5 separate regions of the Homo sapiens genome follow, and all the other regions are linked to region 4. Evidence: promoter capture Hi-C in 16 types of primary human blood cells and fetal thymus (Javierre and others, 2016). All regions are on one chromosome and are shown on one strand. The core of a region is centred on a gene start or on the middle of the fragment in contact, and the rest is flanking DNA. Distances in the headings are between cores, read along the strand shown. Region 1 overlaps LOC105377731 (a long non-coding RNA gene). Region 2 has its middle 12 kb from the start of NKX2-5. Region 3 overlaps LOC105377727 (a long non-coding RNA gene). Region 4 holds the start of RPL26L1 (ribosomal protein L26 like 1). Region 5 overlaps NEURL1B (neuralized E3 ubiquitin protein ligase 1B).

The links. Contacts are between HindIII fragments. The CHiCAGO score rates a contact against its expected background, and 5 or more counts as called.
Region 1: a contact is called between a fragment that was not itself captured here and the fragment with the promoter of RPL26L1 in region 4, in 1 of 17 cell types (endothelial precursors). The highest score is 5.1, in endothelial precursors.
Region 2: a fragment that was not itself captured here is called in contact with the fragment with the promoter of RPL26L1 in region 4 in 1 of 17 cell types (endothelial precursors); the score reaches 6.2 in endothelial precursors.
Region 3: a fragment that was not itself captured here is called in contact with the fragment with the promoter of RPL26L1 in region 4 in 1 of 17 cell types (M2 macrophages); the score reaches 5.0 in M2 macrophages.
Region 5: a fragment that was not itself captured here is called in contact with the fragment with the promoter of RPL26L1 in region 4 in 1 of 17 cell types (fetal thymus); the score reaches 5.7 in fetal thymus.

What each region holds. Positions count from the first base shown.
Region 1 is chr5:173,287,322-173,290,021 of GRCh38, forward strand. The region is part of intron 3 of LOC105377731 (a long non-coding RNA gene); the gene reads left to right. Among named protein-coding and RNA genes, the nearest start is that of MIR12118, 15 kb to the right of the region's middle. The HindIII fragment of the contact is 5,843 bases long and covers 1-2,700 here.
Region 2 is chr5:173,245,785-173,248,484 of GRCh38, forward strand. No RefSeq gene overlaps it. Among named protein-coding and RNA genes, the nearest start is that of NKX2-5, 12 kb to the left of the region's middle. The HindIII fragment of the contact is 3,226 bases long and covers 1-2,700 here.
Region 3 is chr5:172,499,028-172,501,756 of GRCh38, forward strand. The region is part of intron 1 of LOC105377727 (a long non-coding RNA gene); the gene reads left to right. It also overlaps LOC107984004. Among named protein-coding and RNA genes, the nearest start is that of SH3PXD2B, 46 kb to the left of the region's middle. The HindIII fragment of the contact is 1,143 bases long and covers 707-1,849 here.
Region 4 is chr5:172,958,165-172,960,864 of GRCh38, forward strand. It overlaps RPL26L1 (ribosomal protein L26 like 1), which reads left to right and starts at 1,260. Exons shown (of 4, transcript NM_016093.4): 1 at 1,260-1,304; 2 at 1,701-1,877. The coding sequence starts at 1,710. It overlaps RPL26L1-AS1 (RPL26L1 antisense RNA 1), which reads right to left and starts at 1,204. Exons shown (of 4, transcript NR_026682.1): 1 at 1,126-1,204; 2 at 1-93. The HindIII fragment of the contact is 11,810 bases long and covers 1-2,700 here.
Region 5 is chr5:172,641,941-172,644,640 of GRCh38, forward strand. The region is part of intron 1 of NEURL1B (neuralized E3 ubiquitin protein ligase 1B); the gene reads left to right. Among named protein-coding and RNA genes, the nearest start is that of NEURL1B, 2.0 kb to the left of the region's middle. The HindIII fragment of the contact is 238 bases long and covers 1,280-1,517 here.

The DNA of each region.
Region 1 (2,700 bases), core at 165-2,664, 330 kb after region 4:
GCAGGGGTTGAGAAGGAGGGAAGGGGCTGGGCAAAGCATAAAGGAGGTGGAGGGATGGTGAGTTCAGAGGGCAGGATTGGCCACCAAAATGAGTGAATAGTGCACTGAGGAAGTAGATTTCAGGTAAGGAGATGAGTTTAACAAATTCTGGATGAGGGCACCTGGAAGGCAACTTTGAGCATCTAGTTGATGCATCAGTGGGTGCAAAGGGGACGAGTTTTCTTTTCTCTCTTTCTTTTTTTTTTTTTTTTTTGAGACCGTCTCACTCACTCTGTTGCCCAGGCTGGAGAGCAGTGGTGTGATCTTGGCTCACTGCGACCTCCACCTCCCGGGTTCAAGCGATTCTCCTGCCTCAGCCTCTAAGTAGCTGGGATTACAGGCGTGCACACCACATCAGCTAATTTTTTATTTTCAGTAGAGACAAGGTTTCACCATGTTGGCCAGGCTGGTCTCGAACTCCTGACCTCAAGTGATCCACTGGCCTAGGTCTCCCAAAGTTCTGGCATTATAGGTGTGAGCCACTGCGCCCGGCCTGGGAATGGGTTTTCTTAAGGTCCTGGACCAAAAGGAAGATGTTAGGAGGCTCGCAGGGGATGAGGTCATGAGGTCTCCTCACACCTTGCTCAGGAAGCATTAATTGGTCTAGCCCCTCTGAGGGCAATTTGATAATATCAGTTCACACAAAACGCTCACTTCTCTGACTCAGTGTTTCCACCTCTAAGAATGAACATCCCCCAAAGTGCCCAAAGTTACAGGCACAGGGGTGCTCTCAGGGGCTCTGCCTGTGTTAGAAAAAAAAAAAATCGGAAGTAACGTCCACCTACAGGGGACTGGTTTAAAAACCAGTGAAACTCTGTGCCACCATTGAAACGAACACAGTCGCATATGTCAATTGCGTGGAGAAATGAGCAAGTCAAAAGGAGATGCAATGTGCACCTGACTCCAGTTTCATAAAAACATACTGCAAGTAATTCCTGTCTTTGTGCATGGAAATAATTACTTAGTTGATTGTGCATCAAATTATTTATGGGTACATAGGGGTTGTTCATTTTTAAATATTTTTAATATTTCTCTGATTTTAAAAGTTTGTGTCATGTACGGGCGTAAGTGGCTGGCCTGCGATGTCTACTGGTCAAAGCGGGCAGTCTCCCTCTTGGGAGGAAGCGTGGTGGCGAGGTCACCAGGGATGCGGGGTGCACAGGCTCCAGGCTGTGTGGGTGCAAAGGCGGGAGGTGGGGGAAGTAGCTGTGAGGTAGACCCTGGCTGCGTGGGGTGGGGTTGGGGCCACTTCCTTTCTACCTCTCCTGGCAGACCACAGGCTGAGGCTACCTGGGCGAGGTGGCCCCAACACATCTGCAAGGAGCTCTATAGCCCACCAAACTGTTCCTCCTGCGTCCTTTTCATCCAGGCCCCGAGCAATCCTGTGACACAGAAATTATTGTCATCTCTACTTTACAAATGAGAGAATGAGGGCCCAGACCAGGTGAGTGACTTGTCCAAAGTCACACAGCTCTTGTAGAGCCCAACTTTGAGCCCAGGTCCTTGGCTCATCCTCTGTCTCACTCTCTCTGCTTGGAAAGATGCCTGGAGAGTAAGGAGCTGAACTTTGACTCTGATGGGAACCCAGTGAGGCCAGAGGTCAGGCCAGTGATCCAGGAGCATCCTTCCATATCAGAGTTGCAAAGTGGCGGCCCACACAAGGTGCTTTGTTTGATCTGCTTGGTGTTTTTAAGAGCTTTGAGTGAGTTGGCAACATTTATTTTATTTTATTAAAAAAAATAGGAGGTCTCACTATGTTGCCCAGACTGGTCTCGAACTTCTGGGCTTAAGCAATCCTCCTGCCTCTGCCTCCCAAAGTGTTAAGATTACAGGTGTGAGCCACCTCACCCGGCCACCAACATTTAAAAATCAGATTTCATGCTAAATCCAGATGTCCAGCTTTTCTTAAAAATATTGGAGTCCTCATTCCTGTTAAGGCAACCAGCCGGCTACAGCAGCTGCTTCCTTTAGTCTGAGTGTGCTGTGTCCAGGGCACCGCAGTCCCCACCACGCCCTCTTGTTTCCCACCCCTGATCTGCGTCACCATCAAGCGAAGTAAGAGCTGTAGAGATGATAGGTAGGAGCATGGATTGTGGAGCCAGAAGGCCTGGATTTGAATTTTACCAACTGGCTGTGTGACCTTGGACAAGTTAGTTCACTGCCTTGGTTTACAAACCTGTGAAATGGGGACATTCATTTAATTTCGACTAATTAAACCAGTTTTTAACATTGAAAAATCAGGAGATCTCATAGAATGCCTTGAAAAATCAGAAAACCTGGTAATACAGGTCTCAGGGCTGATAGCACATATCTCATAGGGTTGTTTTAAGAGTCTTAAATGAATTTTCCTCCCTCCCCCCTTCCCTCCCTTCCTCCTTCCCTCTCTCCCTCCCTCCCACCCTCCCTATCTTACTTTCTCCTTCCCTTCCTTCCTTCCTTCCTTCCTTCCTTCCTTCCTTCCTTCCTTCCTTCCTTCCTTCCTTCCTTCCTTTCATCCCTTCCTTCCTTGACAGGTCTTGCTCTGTCACCAACGCTGGGGTGCAGTGGTTGGATCACTGTAGCTTCAACTTCCCCAGGCTCACTGTAGCCTCAACTGCCCAGGCTCAAACAATCCTCCTGCCTCAGTCTCCCAACTAGCTGGGACCACAGATGTTCACCACC
Region 2 (2,700 bases), core at 197-2,696, 290 kb after region 4:
CCGCATTAGGACCTAGACTGGGGCCCTTCCGCTCGGGGTCAGGCGCAGCGCCCTCGGCTTGGGCCCCGCCGCCCCTTTAGGGGTCCGGGAGGGTGGAGAGAAGGGGCGGGAGCCAGGATGAGGGTGCGGGGGGCCTAGAACCCGAGGCTGGTAGGAGAGCAAACTCTCAAACGCGCTGAAACCGGCCCATCTGGGAGAAATATTAGGGCGCATGTCTCTCCCGGAGGGCTTCCTTTTTTTTTTTTTTCCTAACCACGAAAATAGGGAATCTTTGTTACAGGCTAGTTGTGAGCGAATCCTCCTTTGTCCGCGTCCGGAGGAAAATCAGGTTTATTCTTCAGAGAGGGCAGCTTGGACTTTAGGAAGTGCCTGCCGGGTCCAAGTTTACCTTCCGGACTGCGACGAGGTGAGGTTTCGCCACCGTCCTAGCCTCTGTCCTCTCCCCAACCTGCAGCAAGTCAGCTCTGACTCCGGCGGGGCCGGAGTGCAGGGCAGAGGGGAAAGAAGGTGCCGCCAAGGCTGGTCCTTCAGTCACAGCAAAGGCCCTGTGGCCAGCCTAGGCGACCCCTTCCTGTGGCTAACCCTCCGCGATCTGCAGGCAGAAGTGTTTCTAGGTGCCCCACCAGCCGCTAGGCCCTGGGCCCCTTCAGACGTCCAAGCGCTGTTATGCAAATCTCCTCATTTTTCATTTTCTGTATTCAAAGTCGGCTGTATCCAGTTTTTTAAAAATAAAAATAAACCAAATAACAATAACAAAGCACTCTCAGTCTCCTCCTGCCTTCCATGCACAAACCCATCAATGACCTCTATAAACATGGGAGTCAGCCTCTCGGTGTTTCCAGCCTCACAATTACCCACGGGGATCCCCTCTCTTGAGAAGCTGTAGGGAAAGATACCTCTTGGCTTCAACACAGACTTGCTCCCTTCCGACTTGCCCGGGATCACTCTGGATTACTCCAACTGCTGACGGAGGACCACCCACCAAAACACAGCCTGGCCTTGGGAAAGCGTGGGTTCTCATTTATCAGGGTTTATTTATCCAAAATAAAAATTACTGTAGAAAAGTAAAGGAGGGAAAAACATCTTCCTCCCTTAGGAGGCTTTTTTGAATGAATCTTCTTCTCATTCTTTAAGGCCTTGGTTTAGGCCTTCCTATTCCCTGTGGTCCTTTGACATTATCTCAGCCTTAGTTAAAAAAAAAAAAAAATAGTGAATTTGATTATTATCAGTAACCAAAGGTTGCTGGTGGAGGAAGGGAGACTAGCTGTGTTTTCTTGCATGATGGTTCATTTGCACCGTGTGCTATGCTGGAACCAGAAGAACATGAACTGGACATCACCCTCCCATTCCTGGCCCAATGCTTGAATGCCCTTGTCTCCTGGCCTCTTTGGTTACTCTGGTGACCTAGTTACTCAGTCCTGGGTAGCCCTGGAGATGACTCTCCTGGAGGGGGAGGGCTGCCTCTCCCACTCCTCCAGGCCAGGGGCCCTCAAGCAGGGCTACTCTGAATGAACACTTTTGTTAGAAGGAGCCCTGGGAGATTCGTTTCTTTTCTTCTAACAAGATGTGTGGGTGGGAGATGAGGAAGTCCGGGCATTTATAATTCAGAGTGGTGAGACAGCCAAGGGGGGTGTAGGTGAGGACCCCAGTGCATCGCCCTCTCCCTAGATGTGACAGTCATCGCCTAGGGACCCAGGCTCTTTTCCTAACAGAAGCTGTACTGCCCGTTCATTAGAAGTGGGAGAGGGGAGGTGGGACCAGGTGGCACTGGGAAAACTCTCAGCCACTCCCGAATCCTGCCTTGCATCCTGCCTGCCAAACCATTCCTGGATCCTGACTCTGGGAGATGCTACTTAGGGCAAGAAAGCTGGCTTTGCTTGTGCCTGTGACAAATTATGGGATCCCCTAAGTTCCCAGCCAAGTCCAGCAGTGTACTTGCTTCCACTTGCTGAACACTTTCTGATTTTGGGGGAACTTTTAACTCCAGTGTAACACAGGACTGCACAAAATAACAGCTGCCTCACTAGCATGCAGTTCAGGAAGCAGAACATTACCAGTAGCTACTAAGCCCTCTTGAGTTCTGTTTCCCGGCAGGGCAGTAACTATTCTGACTTCTAACAACAGAATAGTTTTGCCTGTTTTCAGACTTCACATGTATCTAAATACAGTATATACACTCTTTGTGTCTGATAATTTTACTTAGTATATGTTTGTGAGGTTCAATCACATTGTTTGTAGTTGTAGCTAGCTACTTTTCATTGCTGTCGAAACATTTCATTATGTGAAGATGCTACTGTTTATCGCCATTCTCTGCTGATGGACATTTGGGTAGTTTCCAGTTTTTGACTGTTAGGAATAGTGAGTGCCTCTATGAATTGTCTTGCGTGTGTCTTTTGGTGAACATGTTTACACATTTCTGTTGGGTAAATTTCTAGGAGTAGAATTGCTGGATCATATGATATTCACAAATCCAGCTAGAGTACATTCTACTCAGCGTTTTCCAACCTGGTTGTACAGATTTACCCTCATACTGGCAGTGTACAAAAATGGCAGTTTCTCCGCATCCTTGCAAACATTCGGTATTACATGTTTTAGATTTTAAGCCGTTCTGGTGGGGGCGTGGGGGTGTCTCATTGTGGTTTTATTTCACCTTTCCCTAATAACTAGTGAATTGAGGATCTTTTCAAATGTTTATTGATT
Region 3 (2,729 bases), core at 28-2,527, 460 kb before region 4:
CGCCCAGTGGTTTGGTCCACTGCTAGTCTAGATATTGCTGTGAAGCCAGGAGTTTGAGACTATAGTGAGCTATCATCATGCCACTGGACTCCAGGCTGGGTGACAGAGTGAGACCTGATTAGCATCTATAATCAGTTGACTTTAAGTAAAAAATATTACCCTTGATAATGTGAGTAGGCCTCACCTAGTCAGGTGAAGGCCTTAAGAGCAAACACCAAGGTTTCCCGAAGAAGGAACAATTTTCCCTCAACTGTAGTAAGGAAATCCTCTCTGAGTTTCCAGCCTGCTGGGCCACCCTACGGATTTTGGACTTACCAGCCCCCACAACCACATGAGCCAATTCCTTAAAATAAGTCTACATTTCTATCCATTACCTCCTATCAGCTCTATTTCTCTGGAAAACCCTGACGAATACAACAGTCATTCCCATTTTACAGATGGTGAAGCTGAGGCTCAGAGAAATTTGGTCTCATGGCCAGTGTCATATGCCACTCAGTGGCAGGGCCTGGACTGGAACCCAGGCAGCCTCTCTAGGACCAGCATTACAGATCACCTAGCTGATGCTGGGATCCAGGTCTTTTCAGCTTCTTCAGGTATTTCCAGGTGCCCAGAGCCAGCTTTCTTAGCCAGGGAAGCTGATGAGTGAAGCAGCCCCTTTTCAAAATGTACTCTTGTGTGCACTGTGTTTTCCAGAGAGACTTGGGGAAGCTTCTCTAGGTGTGAAAAGAAAAGAGGAGGGGAGGGCTGGGCGCCGTGGCTCATGCTTATAATTCCAGCACTTCAGGAGGCCAACGTAGGAGGATCTCTTGAGCCCAGAAGTTCAAGACCAGCCTGGGAGACAGCAAAACTTTGTCTCCACAAAAAAAGATTTTAAAAAAGTAGCTGGGTGTGGTGGCATATGCCTATTATAGTCCTGGCTACTGGGGAAACTGAGGCGGGAGGATCACTTGAAGCCAGGAGTTCAAGGTTATAGTGAGCTATGATCATGCCACTGCACTCCAGCCTGGGTGACAGAATGAGACCCTGTTTCTACAGAGACACAGAGAGAGAGAGAGACAGAGAGAGAGAGAGAGAGAGAGAGAAGGGCAGGACCTGGGGACCTGGGAGTAAGTCCTTCTTTTTACTTCCTGTCTGTGTGACCTTGAGCAAGTAGCTTTGCCTCTCTGAGCTTTGGTTCCTACAGCCTAAAATTACCTCCAGACAGTGGGGCAAAGTCAAGAGATTCTCTATGTATTGATATAGAAAGACCTTTAAGATAAAATGTAGAGGGAAAGTGCAAAGTGTAGGACAGTGTTTCCCTTTTGTATAAGTAAAGGGGGAACTTTTTTTTTTTGAGGCAGGGTCTTGCTCTGTTGCCCAGGCTGGAGTGCAGTGGCATGATCATAGGTCACTGTAGCCTCGACCTCTTGGGCTCAAGCAATCCTCTCACCTCAGACCCCTAAACAGTTGGGATTACAGGTGTGCACCACCATGCCTGGCTGATTTTTAAATTTTTTGTAGCAACAAGGTCTCACTGTGTCACCCAGGCTGGCCTCAAACTCCTGGGCTCAAGCGATCCTCCTGCCTCTGCCTCCCAAAGTGCTGGGATTATAGATGTCAGCAACCACGCCCAGCCAGAAAAGGGGGATTTAAGAATATGTTCTGGTATTTACATAAACAGACTCTCGGGGAATACACTAGAAACTAATAAAAATGATTCTTTAAACGAGGAGAATAGGAGCAGGATGAGACTTCTCACTGTGTTCCTTTAATTTTTGAAACGTTATTAAATTATGTAGTAGAAAATAAATATTAATAGTTTTAAAAATGATGATAATGAGAGTACCTCCTTCAAATTGTTGTATAGTTAAGCTTAAATGTAAAAATAAATGTAAAATGCAAAGCACATAGTAGGTGCTTAAAAATGGGAGCTGGTCATCTTGCCACAGTGACCCTCCAGGGTGTTTCTCGAGGAAAGGGCAAGATGATCATAATGATGCTTTGATTTCCCGCTTGAACCCAATACATGCTTTCTGCTGAGCTGGGTCCTCTGGGTGACTGAGGAAATAGTCCCCACAGGCCCTTGCTTTCAAGGCTTTAATGATCCACCTGGGGATCCCGGACTAACAGTCATGGGCTGTGCAGTGCTCACCATTCATTCATCAAAGATTTGAAAGGTAAGAAGGGTCGCTAATGGGCAAGGGGAGGGGCTTTTTCGGATGGGAACAAATATTCGTTGAGCTGTACTGGGTGTTCCTACATACACTCCTCCTGTAATCCTCATATCAACTCTGGGAGGAGCAGTGATTGTGTCCATTTCACAGAGAAGGAAACTGAGGCCCAGAAACTTGAGCTAGGGTGTGTAAGAACACACAGCTAGGAATTGGCAGAGTCAGGCTCTGAGGCCATGGCTGTCCAGTTGCAGGTCTCCTTGTCTTCCCACTACACTACAATGCCTGGCCAGGCTCTAGAAGGATCTGGCGGGTTAAGTGAAGCGTGGGTAGGTGGTGGGATGGGAGCGTGGTGCAGCAGCTGAGAGTGATCCCAGGATCCCCTCTGAGGACCATTTAAACTTGCCAACAACCCTACTAGACAAGCAGAAGACATAGTGCTATCTTCCCCATTCCCTCACGGATTAATTAATTAATTCATTCATTCATTCATTTCTCCATATAGCCAGTCATTAACATTTTAGTGAGAACTAGTCCTTCCCAGGCCTTATGCTGAGAACTACGGACATCAAAATGAGT
Region 4 (2,700 bases), core at 10-2,509:
GAGGCAGGAGAATCGCTTGAACTTGGGAGGCGGAGGTTGCGGTGAGCCGAGATGGTGCCACTGCACTGCAGCCCAGGGAACAAGAGCGAAACTCTATCTCAAAAAAAAAAAAAAAAAAAATCTAGTATTAGTAAACGCAGGTGTTTAACAATGTCACCACTACATGTCAGGGAACACTGATAAACTAAGAGAGAGCACGGGACCTGCCTGGGTGTGGCTGCTGTACTTGCAAGACATCTTCCCTCTCTGAGTTTCAGCATGCCGGCATTTGGCACTAAGTTGTCGTTCAACATATATGGAATGAATGAACGAAAGGGAGAGTTGGAGTTAATAACACCTTGCATAGAATAAACCCCGTCGGTTCTTAACCCGAAGAGAGTCGAGACCCAGAGCCCTTTTCCTTCCCTGCCGCCACGGTGCCCACGGAGGGGGCGTGGTTGATCTCCCTCACAGCTCCGTCGGGACCAGAGACCCGGGGACCTTTTACACCCAGGGTCCGCGCAAAGTGTCGGCCTAGCCAGTGGTTGGGTGGCGCCCGGGCCTCCAGGCAGTCTTCCAGGGGTCGGCGAACGAAACGCGGAGCTCGGGAGCGACCCGGCGGGGCCAGGCACGGGCAGAAGGGCCAAGAGGGCCACAGGTGGGCGCGGAGCGGCCGGAGTGGGCGGGGACTGGATGAGAGGGGCGGGGTCTAGGAGAGAGGGGCGGGGCGGCGGCCACAAACCCGCAGGCACGCCGCCGGCCGCCGTTTAGTCCCAGAGATAGAAAAAAGTAGAGGTAGGAGGGCGCGGCGGCTCACGCCTGTAATCCCAGCACTTTGGAAGGCCGAGGCGGGCGGATCACGAGGTCAGGAAATCGAGACCATCCTGGCTAACAGGGTGAAACCCCGTCTCTACTAAAAATACAAAAAATTAGCCGGGCGTGGTGGGGGGCGCCTGTAGTCCCAGCTACTCGGGAGGCTGAGGCAGGAGAATGGCGTGAACCCGGGAGGCGGAGCTTGCAGTGAGCCGAGCTCGCGCCACTGCACTCCAGTCTGGGCGACAGAGCGAGACTCCGTCTCAAAAAAAAAAAAAAGAACACCAGTAAGCCTCTACCGCAGGCCCTACACAAGCAGGCCCTTGTACTCACTGGCATCGCCCTCCCGGGGCCGCCAGGAATGAGGCACTGAGATCCCACCCCAAGCCGCTGGGGGCGCCATTCGACTTCGCTCCTACGGAAATGGGGCTTCGATGTCTTTCTGCGCTTGCGCGGCACGGAAACTCACTTCCGGCCCTGCGCACTCAGGGTCTGAGGCAGCTAGTAGCCGGGTGAGTGGAGGCTGGAGTTTTCTCGGACAGTGAACTCTACCGCCCCGTGAGACCCTGCCCTATGTGTCGCGGGAACACATGTCACCCCACAGCTCTCTTTGAGTGACCTCCCGACCACCCATTCCTGCCTAACCCTAGCATTCCTTCCTCAGCCTCAAGGTCCCAGTGCTACCCTCTCCCCCACGACCCCTTTAGACGGGCATGCGACCTCCACACACGCCTCACTTTATGTGATAGTCAGACTAGTCGCATCTCTCTGTCCTCCCTCAGTTGCCTTTTCAGAGGCTACCTCCCCTGTAGAGCCTTTGTTGGGGGATGAGGAGTGTCTTGGGTCGAGAACAGGCCCCTGTAACCCACTGAGCGCCCCTTCATTCCGTCTCTCTCCGCCCTTTGTAGAGGGTCACCATGAAGTTCAATCCCTTCGTTACCTCGGACCGCAGTAAAAACCGCAAACGTCACTTCAATGCCCCCTCACACGTGCGCAGGAAGATCATGTCATCCCCGCTCTCCAAGGAGCTGCGGCAGAAGTACAATGTCCGCTCCATGCCCATCCGCAAGGACGACGAGGTCCAGGTACGTCTCCCTCCGGCGCTAGTGGCGCTCGGACACCGTTGCCTAAGAACGTCATGCGTGGAGCAGTCACAGACTCACATGCCTCAGGACTCTGGAAAGTAGTGTGACCCTTCAGATGTGTTAGGCCAGAGATAGGGTTCAGAGCCACCAGAGAGTGCCTGCGTTGCTTTAGAGCATTTAATTATTTAATAGTAATAGTAAAATTTAATAAAACAGTATGTCAACCAAGCAAAAACCTGCTTTTTTGTTTGTTTTGTAGAGATAGGGTCTTGCTATGTTGCCCAGGCTGGTCTCTGAACTCCTGGCCTCAAGTGATCCTCCCACCTCAGCCTCCCAAAGCACTGGGATTACAAGTGTGAGCCACCGTGCCCCACCAAAAATACTTTTGATTTAACCTTCTGGCTGCTAGTTTGCCAAGTGTTGTTGCCCAGGGTGGCTTGTTGAACCAGACTGTAGGGGAAGGTGCTGCAGTGAGAGTAGTGTTTTAGTGTATTTGGGTGTAGTGGGATTGATGGACAGAGATTTGTGGGAGCTGGCCATGTGATAGCATTGGATTTGGCAGGAGAACTGGTAAAGATGCAGCGAGTCACTCTTTCATAATTTCTAAAAGACTGGCCCATGTGAGAACGTACAAGCCCTCTGTTCTCTGTGATTGGAGCTTAGAATGCATGAGAGGAGGGAAGGGAGTTGGATATGAGTGAAATAAGCAGGGGCTAGATTCATTCCTCAAAGGAATATTTATGGAGCACTTACCAGAGATTGTTCTAGGACAAGATTGACGAGGCCCTTGTTCTCATGGAGATCACGTTTTAGAGCAGGGTTT
Region 5 (2,700 bases), core at 149-2,648, 320 kb before region 4:
CCACGCGCACCCCGGTTGCGCCCCCCTCTGGTGTCCGCTCCACTGGGGACTCCTTCGCCCCCTCGGAGTCGCTGCTGCAGATCGCATCGCCCCCTAGTTAAAATCGCCCCAGAATTTCTGGGACCGGAGTGAGGGGATCCGGAGCAGGTTAACGGGGTAGGAGGAGGCCTTACTGGAAAATACATGGTAATTGTGGGAACAGATCAGCGGTCCCGCGCCCGCGCGTGCCCGTGGAGGTTCAGTGCCCAGCACTTTGCATACCCCAGCTCGGTATGCAAAGAAGCTTCGCGATAAAGATGTGTATCCCAGTTTTACAAATAAAAAAATTGAGTGTCAGAAGAGGTGAAATGACTCACCCAAGGTCACACAGCTAGTAGTGGGAGAATCTGGAGTGGGACCTGTGTCTCTCTGCCCTCCCTCCCCTCACACGCCCAAGTATTTAGAAGTATTTTGTCTTAAGGCTGGGCCTTTGTAGCATCCTTTGGGCAAAAGGTGAGAGGAGTGTGTGTGTGTCTAAAGCACAAAGGCTCGGCTCAATGGGGAAGCAAGTCAGCTGTGAGGTTAATTTAGTGTGAGGTTCTGGAAGAGGGACATATCACCCCATCTCTGCTATAACACTCCCATATAGCTCTCCCTTCTAGGCATTACATGCTCTTAAAGAATAATTTCCCCTGGAGCGGGTTGAAGTGGACAGTGCTGAGCCCAGGATTCCCAGGGTCAGCTTATGGAAGAGGAGCCAACTCCTACTTTACAAGCCTCTGAGCAACTGCACTCAAACGTTCAAATTCCCAGAGAGCTGTAATCATCAGCAGAGTCACCAGCTAGTCAGTGGCAGAGGTGGGATTAGAACCCAGGTCTGCTTACTGGAGGGTGGCCTCTACCTCCTGTGGACAGGGCTATTGCCAGGTTGGGGGAGAACCCACCCGCGGGTCAGGAGATATCTGGGGATGTTGGCAAATAGGGCAGCAGATATTCTCGCCACATAGACACTGGGATGAGGCACCTCGGCACAGGCCCCTTTCCTTGGTTTCTTAATTTAAAAATGTTTATACTATTCTAGTAAAAAGCCATTCTGCCACCTGTGGGTCAGCCCTGGGGTGCGTAAAGGGACAGACACACGCCAGGCAGGCTAAATATAGCTAGAGATTTATGTATTCTCCATCCCTCTCAACTCTCTCTCTGTGGACTGGGCCACCCTAGTCTGGGAGCCGGCAGTTAAGGTTGGTTACCCACTGCAGTGTCTAAGTATGGGGAATTCAGACTCTTCTCTGGGGATTGAAGCTTGCACTGAGTTTGAGGAAGGGGTCAGAACCGGAATTCCTGAGTCACATCGGGTGGCAGATGCCAAGAATATGAAGGGCCGTTAATTGTTTTCCGACCTACCAGTATGAGTTTCTTGCACACCCTGTGCTGTTTTTTGTACCTCTGTGCTTGGCATGTGATGGTCCCCATGCATGGATTGTCCTTTCTTGTCTAGTCTGCCTTTCAAAATCCAGTTGTCGTTACCTCCTCCAGGAAGCTTTCCCTGACCACCCACAGTCTCATCCTTTGCTCTGCTATCTGGATGCCTGAAGTCCTTTCCTGCTCATCGTTGCAATGACTGCATTGTCACTGCCTGTCTCTGTGACTCTTTGCGGTTCCCTGAGGACAGAGCCCTTGTCTTGATCATCTTGTATCCCTGGTTGCCCATCCCAGAGACTGGTGCCTGGCAAGGGCTCAAAAACTGGTGGTGGAGCTCGAATGTTGCCTGAATCTTAGGCTGAAGGAACACTTGGCACAGTCTTGCCCTGTAGAATCCTTGTGCTTTCGTTCTCAGGAAAAGGACACATGCGTGGGGTTCTTTCTGCGGGACTTGAAATAGAGAGCTGGCATTTGCTGAGCACCTGGATTCCATGCCAGGCTTCCTGCATATGTGGCTTCATTTACACGCCAAGCATGCTTCTCCTCAAGGCTTCTGCACTTCCTGATCCCTCTCCCCGGCACATTCTTCTGCCCTCCTCCCCATGGCTCCCACCAGGCTTCCTTGGGGTCTCTGCTTGAACGAGGGGCCTGCTGTTGCCCCAACCCCACTCACTCCTTTGACCCAGCTTTAAGTTTCTCCTTAGCACGTGTCACTATGCGACACGCTGTATGTGTAGTTAGCAGTTTCTTGTCTGTCTCCCCCAGGGAGATTTTGTCTGTTTTATTCACTGCTATACGTTTAGCACCTGGAGCAGTGGCTAGTACAGAGTAAATGTTCAGTAAGTACGTGTTGGATGGGATGAATGGATGAATTTAATTCTTCTAACATCCCTGCAATGTAGGCATTATCATCTCCATATTACAGTTGAGAAGCCGAGGCTCAGAGAGGTAAAGTGGCTTGTCCCAGCTCACACAGTTCACCTAGTTGGCAGAACTGGGATTGCAATTTAGGTTAACTTAGCTCCAAAGTCCTGCATTCTTATTCTGACATGCTGTGGCCTCCCAGCCCGTGATTTAGATAACATTTATTGGGTTCCCCACCATGCACGTGGCATGCTACACTATACAATAAGGAAATGCCAAAGAAAGGGAAGGTTGTTTATGATCGATTGCGGAAGCCTCTTGGCAGCTCTTGCAAAGTGCATCAGCATATTCAGAGAAATGCCCTTTAAACAGAACGTGCAGCACAGGACCTCACATCTACTAAGCTCCTACTGTGTGCTCTACACTCTCTTTCCA